Regions from separate parts of the Homo sapiens genome. Here region 1 is linked to region 2. Evidence: promoter capture Hi-C in human tissues and cell types (Jung and others, 2019). All regions are on one chromosome and are shown on one strand. The core of a region is centred on a gene start or on the middle of the fragment in contact, and the rest is flanking DNA. Distances in the headings are between cores, read along the strand shown. Region 1 has its middle 43 kb from the start of LGI2. Region 2 holds the start of LGI2 (leucine rich repeat LGI family member 2).

Region 1 (5,171 bases), core at 2,429-4,928, 42 kb before region 2:
GGGGAGGCTGGGAGGGGTTGGGAGAGGCTGGGAAGGGGTTGGGGACACTCTGAGGGTTCACAGTATCCACAGAGTATCACACTTATTCAGCACTTCCTTTGTGCTGAGCACTGTGCCAAGGATTTGATATGAACTCATTTATTTTTCAATCTGACCCTATGAGGAGGACACAATTGTTTTCATTTTATAGATAAGAAAATGGAAGCACTGAGCGGTTAAGTGGGTGACCTCAAAGTTGCAAGAACTGCAAGGGAGGTTCCCAAAGGCTGGAAGTCTATGGGTTTGGGAGAGTGGCAGGAGGTGGCACAGCCTGCAACTCAGTTCTGAGGCTCCATTTGCCTGGGAGCTCCCAGAAGGGGATTCACTGAGCATGGACTCTGGGAGCTTCCCACGTGGGGCAGGGTGCAGGAGGTCCCCAGGCTCCTTCTGGCAGAAGGCTCGGACAATGGGCTCATCGGCCCTGTCCAGTGAGAGTCGGGCACCAAAGGACTGTTTGGACATGCTGTTTGTTACCTATAAACTCCTGCCTCCCTCCACTCAACCCTGAAAAAGATTCTTCCCAAGCAAAGGACCCTGGTGGGTGGTGGCTTGACTCGCATTTAATTTTACATATAATAAATAAAGTGAATATGGTGCCAGAATAAAACTCACACAATGTCTGGGGCCACAGGATTCTGGTAATTTTGCTTCTGGGCCTCTCCTCCCACTCTGACCAAGTTCTAGGTCATGCCATCCCTGGGCAGGCTCTTGGAGCTCCATCCCAGCCTCCACCAGCTGCTGCTCCAGCGGCCTTGATGCCCCCAACAGTTCAAGTGGCCTCTTGCCTCAGCCTGTCTGAATTGGGTTTGTTTAAGGAAATTAAGAACCAGACTTGGTTTAACTCAGGCTGGTTCCAACTCGTTATTACCCCACAGTCTTAAGCTTCAAGCCAGCCTGAACAAATTCCTGCAAGCCGCCGTGGGGAGAGAGCCACCCCCTCCTGTAAAAACAGCCCTGTCACACTTCATGGCAGGTGCATGCTAGGCAGAGATCTGTATTTGATTATTCATATTCTCTTTTGGTTTTGCTTGATAGGATTTAGAATGATCTGAGGGAAGGAAAGGAATGTGTCAAGAGAAGAGAGGTGACGGGCGGATGCGGGCTAAGGGGGGGACACTTTAACAGAGGGGAAAGAGGTAGCTCCTTCCTCACTTTTGACAGAGTTAGGGATCTCAGTGGAGCAGGCTACAAAATACAAATCATATCATTCCTGTGAGAAAACGGCAAGTTTGTCCTCACATTAGGAAGTCATAGTAACAAGAAATGTTCACACTAACAAGTACTGAGTACTAAGTACTTAATCTGTGTGCCAGGAACTGCACCATTTCCCACGAATTATCCGCTCTCTTTGCCCTCATTGTACATATGAGAAGACAGAGAGGTTATGCAGTGTGCGCAAGACCACTCAGTGAACGGGCGGCTGAGATGGGTCTCCAGCCTGCATCTGTCTGAAGCTCCCGGCTCTTAGCAGCTCTGCAGAGACGCAGCCGGGAAGAAGCCAGAACAGACTGCAGTCAGCGGTTCTCAGCCCTGGAGATGCAGTCACATCAGCTGGGGAGCCTTTAAAACAGCACTGGGCCCAGGCGCCTCCCGGAGAGCCTGACTGAATGGAACTGGGCTGCGGCCTGGGCATCGGTTTGTTTCTAAAGCTCCCCAGGTGAATCTGATGTGCAGTCAGGGCTGTGAACCATGGCTGGATGGGTTGGAGCTGAAAGTAAGTCCTGAGGTGACCTGGGCAGAGGTAAGACTCTGAGACTAGGGAGCCTGGGAGAAGGAAGACAAGAATCACAATTTCTTTCTTCTTCCTTCCTTTTAATGATAAGTGACACTGCATTCAAGATAAACTTGAAGAACTTTAAATACCAAGTTTCCCTAAAGCACAGAGAGCAAACCATCTGAAACTTCTTTAATTTCATCAGTAGCTCAGGCCCAGAACCAGCCAGACTGCCGTCTGACACAAATGCCACTAGAGAGCCGTCATCCTGTCCCTGGGCCAGGTTAACCCATATCTGGAGTTAATCCAGACCTAATTTTATATATATATATATATATATATATATATATATATATATATATATACTTTTTTAATTTTTAAAATCTTGGTAAAATATACGTAACATAAAATTTACCACTTTAATCATTTTTACCTATACAGCTTGGTGGCATTAACTCTATATGCAATGTTGTGCAGCCATCCCCATTGATATGGTTTGACTCTGTGTCCCCACCCAAATCTCATCTTAAATTGTAATCCACATAATCCCCACGTGTTGAGGGAGGGACCTGGTGGGAGGTGATTGGATCATGAGCCGGTTTCCCCCATGCTGTTCTCGTGATAGTGAGTGAGTTCTCAAGAGATCTGATGGTTTTCTAAGGCAGTTTTTCTTGCTCTTGCTCACTCTTCTGTCTCCTGCCACCATGTGAGAAGGCCTAAGCTTGCATCCCCTTTGCCTTCCCCCATGATTGTAAGTTTCCTGAGGCTTCCCCAGCCATGCAGAACTGTGAGTCAATTAAACCTCTTTCCTTTATAAATTACCCAGTATCGGGTATTTCTTTATAGCAGTGTGAAAATGCACTAATACACCCACTATTCATTTTCAGAACCTTTTCATCTTGCAAAACTGAGACTCTGTGCCCATTCAACAATAACTCCCCATTCCTCCCTCCTGCTAGCCCCTGGCAACCAGCATTCTACTTTCTGTCTCTGAATCTGACTGCAACCCAGACCTCATTTTATGACAGATTAGTTATTCCTATAACAGCTCAAATAAAATCAAATAATTATAACTACCCTCGATTAAGCAGTTAATTACAGAGCAACTATCTCAGTAGGTGCTATCGCAACCTCCACTGAACAGATGACCATGCAGTGTGGCAGAGACAATTCTATGTGCTCACACTGGAAGACCACCTTTTCTAGCCTCTATGCAGGGTAGGTGGGGCCATACTACTAGGTTCTAGCCAATAGAAAATAGGCAGAAGTGATGAATATCATTTCCAAGCCTGGCTGTAACCCCCTGTGCTATCTCCCACACTCTTTCACCCTTCTGCAGCAACCTAAGAGGCTACATATTTAAGGTGGCAGTGTTAAAACATGAGAAGAATCTGAATCTTGAGTCCCTGCTTGGACAGAGCCATCAAGAATTGGTGTCCAACCTGCATCAAACTGGGGCATGAACAAGAAATCAAATTGAGATATTGTGCAATTTTATTACTGCAGCAAAGCCTATCCTACCCTAATATAGAGAGACCCAATGACTTACTGTATTAGTTCATTTTCACACTGCTGATAAAGACATACCTGAGACTGGGTAATTTATGAAGAAAAAGGTTTAATGGACTCACAGTTCCACGTGGCTGGGGAAGCCTTACAATCATGGCAGAAGGTGAAAGGCACATCTCACATGGTGGCAGACAAGAGAAGAGAACTTGTTCAGGGAAACTGCTTTCTAAAACCATCAGATGTTGTGAGACTTATTCACTACCATGAGTATAGCACAGGATAGACCCATCCCCATGATTCAGTTACCTCCCACTGGGTCCTTCCCACATATATGGGAATTGTGGGAGTTACAATTCAAGATGAGATTTGGGTGGGACACAGCCAAACCATATCACTTTTTATAGCTAATAGCCACTGGAGTCAGTATTCAACCCCACTTCTCTCTGATACCCTATTTGGTGGCCTTGGCATTACACTCTGCTGCTATTGTGTTGTCCACATTGCTCTCAAAGTATCTATTTGAGGTTAAATATATGGCCTTAAAAAACTGCTTACTTCTGTACAAAAAGCTAGGCATTTTCATATGTCCCTCTCTCCACACCAAACTACCCTCTGTACATCTTGCTATTCCCCAAAAGAAAAATAAAACAAGCTTCTTTTGCTGAGCTCCATCCCTCCAGTTGACAAAAATCCCAGGAGCCTCTGGTCCTCAAGTCAGGCAGACATTTAAACCTATTCTTCTTTAAGAGATGCTTCACCAGCAATTTATTTCCTGTCACAGCCTGTGTTTTCTGCCTATGAAGGATGATATTTTGTTCACCTTTGGTGCCTTTACCCCATCGTATTCTGCAGTAAATGTCCCCAAACAATGCTTGCACTATCCATTAGGAAAGGCTGTCTCGACTGGCTGTCACCCAGCAAGGCTGCTTCTCCCAGTCTTTGGTCTAAACATAATGTCATTTCTTCTTAGCACATCACCCACTACTATCTCCTGTTTTTAAAAAAGTGTTTCAACAGAATGTTTCTTCTCTATTCTATATCAAAATCTGTTTCATCACAACAAGCCGAGAGCTTGATAACCTTTTTAAAACTTTGAAGAGGAAAGTGTAGAAAAATGACCCAGAGATAGAACATACATCTGGGAACTTAGAAAAGTGAAGTTGGATGTAGAGCAACAACAAGAGTGAAAAGAAAATGTTAGAAAACTTTCCACATTATGAACCTCACAGAACAGAGAGGTAAATATTTTTTACTCAAGCATTGAAATAGAGTACGGTGGCCAGATTTAGCAACTAAAATACCAGATGCCTAGTTGCATTTGAATTTCAGATCAGCAGTGAATCATTTTTTTGTATGTCTCATGCAATATTGGGGTATATTTGTACGAAAACAGTATTTGTTATTTATCTGAAATGTAAATGTAACTGGGCACCATGCATTTTGTCTGGCAGTGCTAAGGGAGGGCACAGGCTCAGGCTCAAACTCTGGTTCTGTCCCTTATCAGCTGGGGACAGCTTGGATCGAATACTTAACGTCTCTGTGCCTCAGTTTCCTCATCTCCACAATGGGGATAGTGAAAGGGCTATTGGGAGACTCAACTGGGAGATGCAAGTAAAGACTGTGCACTGCACCTGGTACACAGTAAGTGTTCAATAAATATACAAAAGCTGGTGGATGGCTAAGGGGAAACCAAGCCTGTCAGCATTCGCCAAGGGCCTCTTCCATGTTTGGTGCCATGTTGTGTCTGTTTTGTATCTGAGTCCCTCTGTGACTTTGGGCAAGGTGTTAATCTCTCTGAGCTTTACTCTCCTTATCTGTAAAAAGGAGCTGATACCATCTACTCTTAGAATTTCTGGAAGCATTAGTAAACGTACACAACAGGACGACTTAATTCAAATCACCCTTCCTG
Region 2 (5,713 bases), core at 572-3,071:
ATTTTCTTTTCCTGGGTCAGCAGGGAGTGCTCTGTTTGAGAAGCCTCCGTTCCTCTGCTCTATAAAGCAGTAGCCCATCCCTCTTAAGGGAAACATCTTTCAGGTGCACAGCACACACATCCACGATTGTGGGTCTGCATGTCTGTCGCCCTCCCAGGCTGTGGTCTGTGTCCTCAGCCCCTAACACTGGGGCTTGCTGAGTAAAGTATTTGTAAATGCATGCCCACACAGCAGCGAGGGTTAGACACAGCAGCCAGTTGTGGAGTATGATCTCCCTGGCCATGTCCTGTGTGATCTTGGACAAGATAAAAACTTCTCTGAGCTCAATGTTCCCATCCATAAAATGGGAGGACCCATTTCTCAGGACAGATGCAAGAATTAAATGATGATAAATGCAGGCTGGTTTGTACTGATGCCAGGTGCTTTTTACATAGTCACCAGCAGGGAATGTCTAACTCCCTCCATGAAGTTGCCTACGCAAAGCTCTCTTTCAATTCCTGAACCTCTTTTGGTCAGTCTGTGACCCCCTTGTAGCCAGTGGAGTTGCTCTTTTAGGGTTGTCTGTCCAGCTAGACTTTTAGCTCCCTGAGGACAGGAGCTGTTCCTTTGTTCCCTCCCACAGCAGCCAGCCTGATACCGTCCTCATGGATCTTGTCAATGGATCACCAACAATAATTGCTGAAGAAGCAATAGTATGATTCCTACTTTTGCATTCGATACTGACTTTTCTGAGTAGGTTTTAGCATCTGGCATGCTTTTCCTTGGTTTGCAGCTCGACAGTCGTGCTGTGATTCCCTTCTCCCAGCAGTTCAGGTTATTAGCCATTACTTTGTTTCCGCTTTGGTCATTTTCTTTGATTTCCTCAGCCGCACATTACCTGTGTTAAGATTTCCGCTCATTGCTTCAAACTTAAGGAGTTGAAGAGGGGCTCAGGAGGGCCCAGTTAAGGTAGCCCTTCAAGGCTCCGAGCCCCATCCTGCCCAGCCAGGAGCTGCTGGACCATCAGCCAGTCAGGATGCTTTCTGGGCGTCAGCAGCCTCATCAATAAATTAAGGATATAAGTAGGACCTGCCTCAAAAGGTTAGAAGATTAAAAGTACAGTGGCTAGAATGTATCACACCCTCAATCTCTACAAACCCTCCTCTGACTGGGGCGGGTGGGGTGACCCGTGGGCAGCTGAGCGAGGGGAAACTTTCCCGGGCTTTCCAGCTCTTTAGCAGGCAGCAGGCAGGGCCCAGAGCGCCGGGCGTGCAGGCTGCAGCGGCTTTGCTTCCCCACGTTCCTCCCATGGGAGGACTGGCTGGCTTCAGTAACCCCTGGTGCTGTGGGAGCGAGAGCCAGACCTCACTGCCCCACCGCAGAAGACAAGCAAAGCCATCCTCGCTGACCCTACCGGCAGCATGCACTTCAAAATTAATAAAGGCTGCTCCAAAGTCTCTCCTCTTCAAAGCACCCAGGGCTGCCTCCCTCCCCAGTAATCAAGCCGGTTCTCCACACTCCCCGCTCCGACTTTATTGATTTGCCTGAAAGGAACCCAGTGCCCTCCCCAGATTATACCCCTGGAGGTATTGCAGGCATCGGATCCTCCACCGCTCAGTCAGGCCCCGACGGGGGTCTCCGCCAGGCTTGGCCCCTCCCCCAAGGTCACCCAACTTTTCCCTCTGTCCCCGCGCCCGGCCCGGGGCGAGAGGGGGTGGCGAGGTGGGGGCCGGGTGGGGCGCCACGGGGCCGGCGCTGGCCCCCTCCCCCGCGGGGCGGGCCCCGCCATGCATTATTCATTGGCCAGAGCCGGGCTGCGGGCGCGAGTGCTGATGTCAGGCAGGCGCGAGTGCGGCGGGCGCAGCGGCGGCGGCCGCCCAGCAGCCCGGGCTCGGGTGGGGGGGCGCCGAGTGGGGGTGGCGGCCAGCATGCTGCTCGGCTGCGGCTCGGCCTCCCACACCCGCGGCTCCCTAGTCCTCGCCAGCAGCGGCGGCGGCAGAGCAGCGAGCGGCGCCCGCGTCTGCAGCGGCGCCGGGTCCGAGCGCGCGGCGCGGCGGTGGGGGTCGGGGCCCGGGCGGGGAGCGGGGACCGGGCATGGCGCTGCGGAGAGGCGGCTGCGGAGCGCTCGGGCTGCTGCTGCTGCTGCTGGGCGCCGCGTGCCTGATACCGCGGAGCGCGCAGGTGAGGCGGCTGGCGCGCTGCCCCGCCACTTGCAGCTGTACCAAGGAGTCTATCATCTGCGTGGGCTCTTCCTGGGTGCCCAGGATCGTGCCGGGCGACATCAGCTCCCTGTGAGTGGGACCCCTCCAGCCCCCATCCCGTCCCGCCCCACCCTGCGTCCGCCGCCGCGAGGGAGTTGCCTCTGGCGCCGGGCCAGCGCGACCCTGACCCACTCCCCAGGCCCCTTCTTTGCCTTTGTGTGGGGGACGTGGGTGGAGTGTTGGCCCCCGGGGAGGACGGTGAGGACCTGAGCCCCAGAATCTGGGAACCCAGACAGGTTCCTGTGGCAGCGTTTCTCAGAGTGTGGCCCACGGGCCACCTGCATCAGACTCACCTGGGGAAGCTTGTGCCAATGCAGAATCCAGCTGCTCTGAAGCAGTCTTTGGAGTGGAGTCCTGGAGTGTGCGTTTGACGTCCCCGGGAGACTCAAGGGTGCATTAAAGTTTGAGAGGGCGTGTGCGTGTGTGTGTGTGTGTTTGCGGGTTGGAGTTGTGTGTGTAGGGGCGTGCATAGGAGCAGCTGAACACGACCTGACTGAGTGCAAACTGGGCAGGGTGAGGCCTCACTGCCCCACATCAGGTCTGGGGCGAATGTTCACCCCGTGGCCTCCTCCCGACTTCTCCACATTGCAGGTTGCAAAAAGTCGAGGTCAAGGCATGCAGGCTCTGGGAGGGGAGGGGCCGCCCCCCGTGGCCTAGAAGAGGGGTAACAGAAGGCTGGGCAGAGGTTTGGGGCATGTTGGGCGCCTAGCCCAGTGGCCAAGTGCTTTGAAGTCAGCCTTCTTGCCCTGAGGTCAGGAGGGCTTCTTGCCCCCTTTCTCCATCACACAGTTGTGTTGGCTGCTTTTTCAGCAGGAGGAACTGACAGGAAAGGGCTTCACATTAGGTATCCACCTGCCGAGAGGTGCTTTCATCCTGCCCTCACCTGGCCACTCAAGCCAAATGACCAGCTCTCACAAGGGCGGTGGAAGGGGCTGTTGGGCTGTATCTTTACTGCTAGGACATGTTTCCTGCTAAGACCACTCTCTTGTTCCAGGCCAAGATGCCTGGGTGCCCAGTCAGTGGTGGAGGCAGGGAATCCCCGGGGTGACGTTGCTTGTGCTCAAGATACTTTCTTGTGTCCAGTGCTTCCCAGCCTCCCACCCAAGGCAAATTGTAGGGGCCTGGACCCAGGAGTGAGGGGGTTCCCATTTGCATTTATAGAAAGTCAGAAGAGTTTGGCTGGTGGGAACAGAGGACCTTTTTGATTCTTAATATTGCTAAGTCGGGTGACATGGAGGATTCCAGAAATTAGAGTTCCCCTTATTAAATCCTTCAGACCAGCAGCTGCTTAAGTGATCTGCATGCCAACTGAAAGGAATTCTGAAATAATGTATTCAGATCCTGCTGTGGCCAGAAAGGATGGGGGCCTGGGGGCAGAAATAAAGCCAAGCATCTTGCCTCCTGGTTGACCGTTTTATCTGGCAGATGGTACTGCCTCTCCCCACACAGGGGAGTTCAGGTGTCTGTGAGTTTTTCCCCAGGGCTTTCATGTTGCATTTAATCAGGAGTGCTCTGTCTTTCAGAGATGGGGTCCCAAGAGGAATGCTTAATCCTACCCCAGCATTTCATAGGCCAACACAACGCTGTGTCTACACAAACAGAATCATGGGCAGAGGTGAAGCGATTATCCATTTTCAGGCAAGGACCTCCTGTAGTTAAGAAAAGGAAGTGAAGGGATTGATTTAAACTGACCGAGATAATGTCTGTGGAAGGAGCTGATGGTAAAGGTTTCTGTTATTCAGACTAGTCTTCATATTGATCTGATTCATTGGGAAGTGGCTTGTCTCTTCTTATTCCTACCCCGGGGAAGATCCTGGGCAACTGTGCTATGCCTCACTCCTGAGAGTCAGGGTTTGAAGTACAGGTGGAGGCAGAGTTTGATTACCCACCCTGCATGGCACTTCCTAAAAGAAACCTAGGCCTACTTTTGTTCATCTTTTGCCCGTAGGAGCCTGGTAAATGGGACGTTTTCAGAAATCAAGGACCGAATGTTTTCCCATCTGCCTTCTCTGCAGCTGCTGTGAGTATGGGAAGTTCCCTCTGCACAATGGGGGGCCCTGAGGTGCCATCCTTGGAGGGCCGTCTCTGCCTCTTTGGTATCAGCCCTTCCTAAAGTACCCCAGCTCCGTGAGGAGACCGTGGCTGCCTCTTGGTGTTAATTTACCCTGTGATGTCCCCAGCAAAGCACTGAGGCTCCCTGCTCAGCTCTTTCCTTAGTTCGATACCTGTTTTCTTCAGAGACTTTATTGTAGATCCCAACACCCAGATCTAGTAAATGGGGAGGTAATTGCATTGACTCATGACCTGAAAGTCACCTAAATGCACTGTTTCCCAAACACCTCAGTTTAAAAGAAAACTTCATTTTAAAATCTTAATGTTACTCTGGAAATAGGAGTGTTTCTAGTTTGCTGAGAACTTAAACCAGTCAGGCAGCATCCTATGAACTTACGTGCGTAATTTTATTTCATCATCACTTCATCGGTATGATGAAGGCATGCTTATGATCCCATTTGATAGATAAGGAAACTGAGGTTCAGGGAACTTAACTAACTTGTCCCAAATCAGAGCCAGATTCTAGTCCAGGGCCAAAAGCCCACACTCCTAACTATTCCTCATCCCATCTCCTCTCTGTGAGCAATGCTCAAGTCCCTGTGGTGATGCTCATGTTGTGCCCTGTAACCCAGGCTGGGTAATGTGTGCTGATGAAAACAAATGTCCAAAAAGTAGTTTTCAAAAGCAATCCAGTGACAGGCAAAGTAAGAGTACACACCTCATTCTCTTGATCTGTGTTGGTTTCTTAAATTTGAGATGAGACTGAAATTAAAACAAGCAATGTGCTATAGAAAAATTTGGATAAATGGAATATAGGAGAGCACTATTCATCCTCAATAAACATACTCTTGATACTTTTGTTCTTGAAATCTTATATGCCTACTTTTAACATTACACTTAACATTTTAAAATCTGAGGCCTCTTAGAAATTGCAGTGCTATTAAAATATACTTTTCATATAATAGAAATACAATTTTAGGTATTCTTTTGCCAGTAGACTTGGGTGATGACTCAAATAGAAAACTACGTAGTAACAGTCTCCTGAAAGTTTCTTAAACAAACTTTTTTTTTTTTTTTTTTAACTATTGTTATGGGTCCAGCTGCATGACTTTGGTCAAGTCACTTAGCTTCTCTGGGCTTTTATTTTCGTAAAAATAGATTTGGATTAGATCTTTTTAGATCTCTAATTTTATGATTGCTTGTGTACCATAAAGCATTCACTGGCTGTTTAGTCGTGCTGAGCATTATAATGTTTTAAAGTCACAGCTATCAGATCATATTTACTGAGACACACAGGGAAGAAAGGAGTAGAGTTCTGGAGAGGACAAGAAAATCTGGTCAAAAGGAATCCACTTGCCATCGTCTCTAAGAGCAGGCTGTGAGAATCAGGTTTTTGACAACAAAATGTGGTCTCCTTAGGC

What was found. Contacts are between HindIII fragments. The study calls those that stand out against the background at their distance.
Region 1: a contact is called between a fragment that was not itself captured here and the fragment with the promoter of LGI2 in region 2, in 3 of the 25 tissues and cell types used here (aorta, neural progenitor cells and thymus).

What each region holds. Positions count from the first base shown.
Region 1 is chr4:25,071,769-25,076,939 of GRCh38, reverse strand. No RefSeq gene overlaps it. Among named protein-coding and RNA genes, the nearest start is that of LGI2, 43 kb to the right of the region's middle. The HindIII fragment of the contact is 3,960 bases long and covers 1,699-5,171 here.
Region 2 is chr4:25,027,054-25,032,766 of GRCh38, reverse strand. It overlaps LGI2 (leucine rich repeat LGI family member 2), which reads left to right and starts at 1,821. Exons shown (of 8, transcript NM_018176.4): 1 at 1,821-2,270; 2 at 4,189-4,260. The coding sequence starts at 2,074. LOC124900684 (a long non-coding RNA gene) reads right to left here and starts at 2,659. Exons shown (of 2, transcript XR_007058083.1): 1 at 2,534-2,659. The HindIII fragment of the contact is 9,452 bases long and covers 1-4,969 here.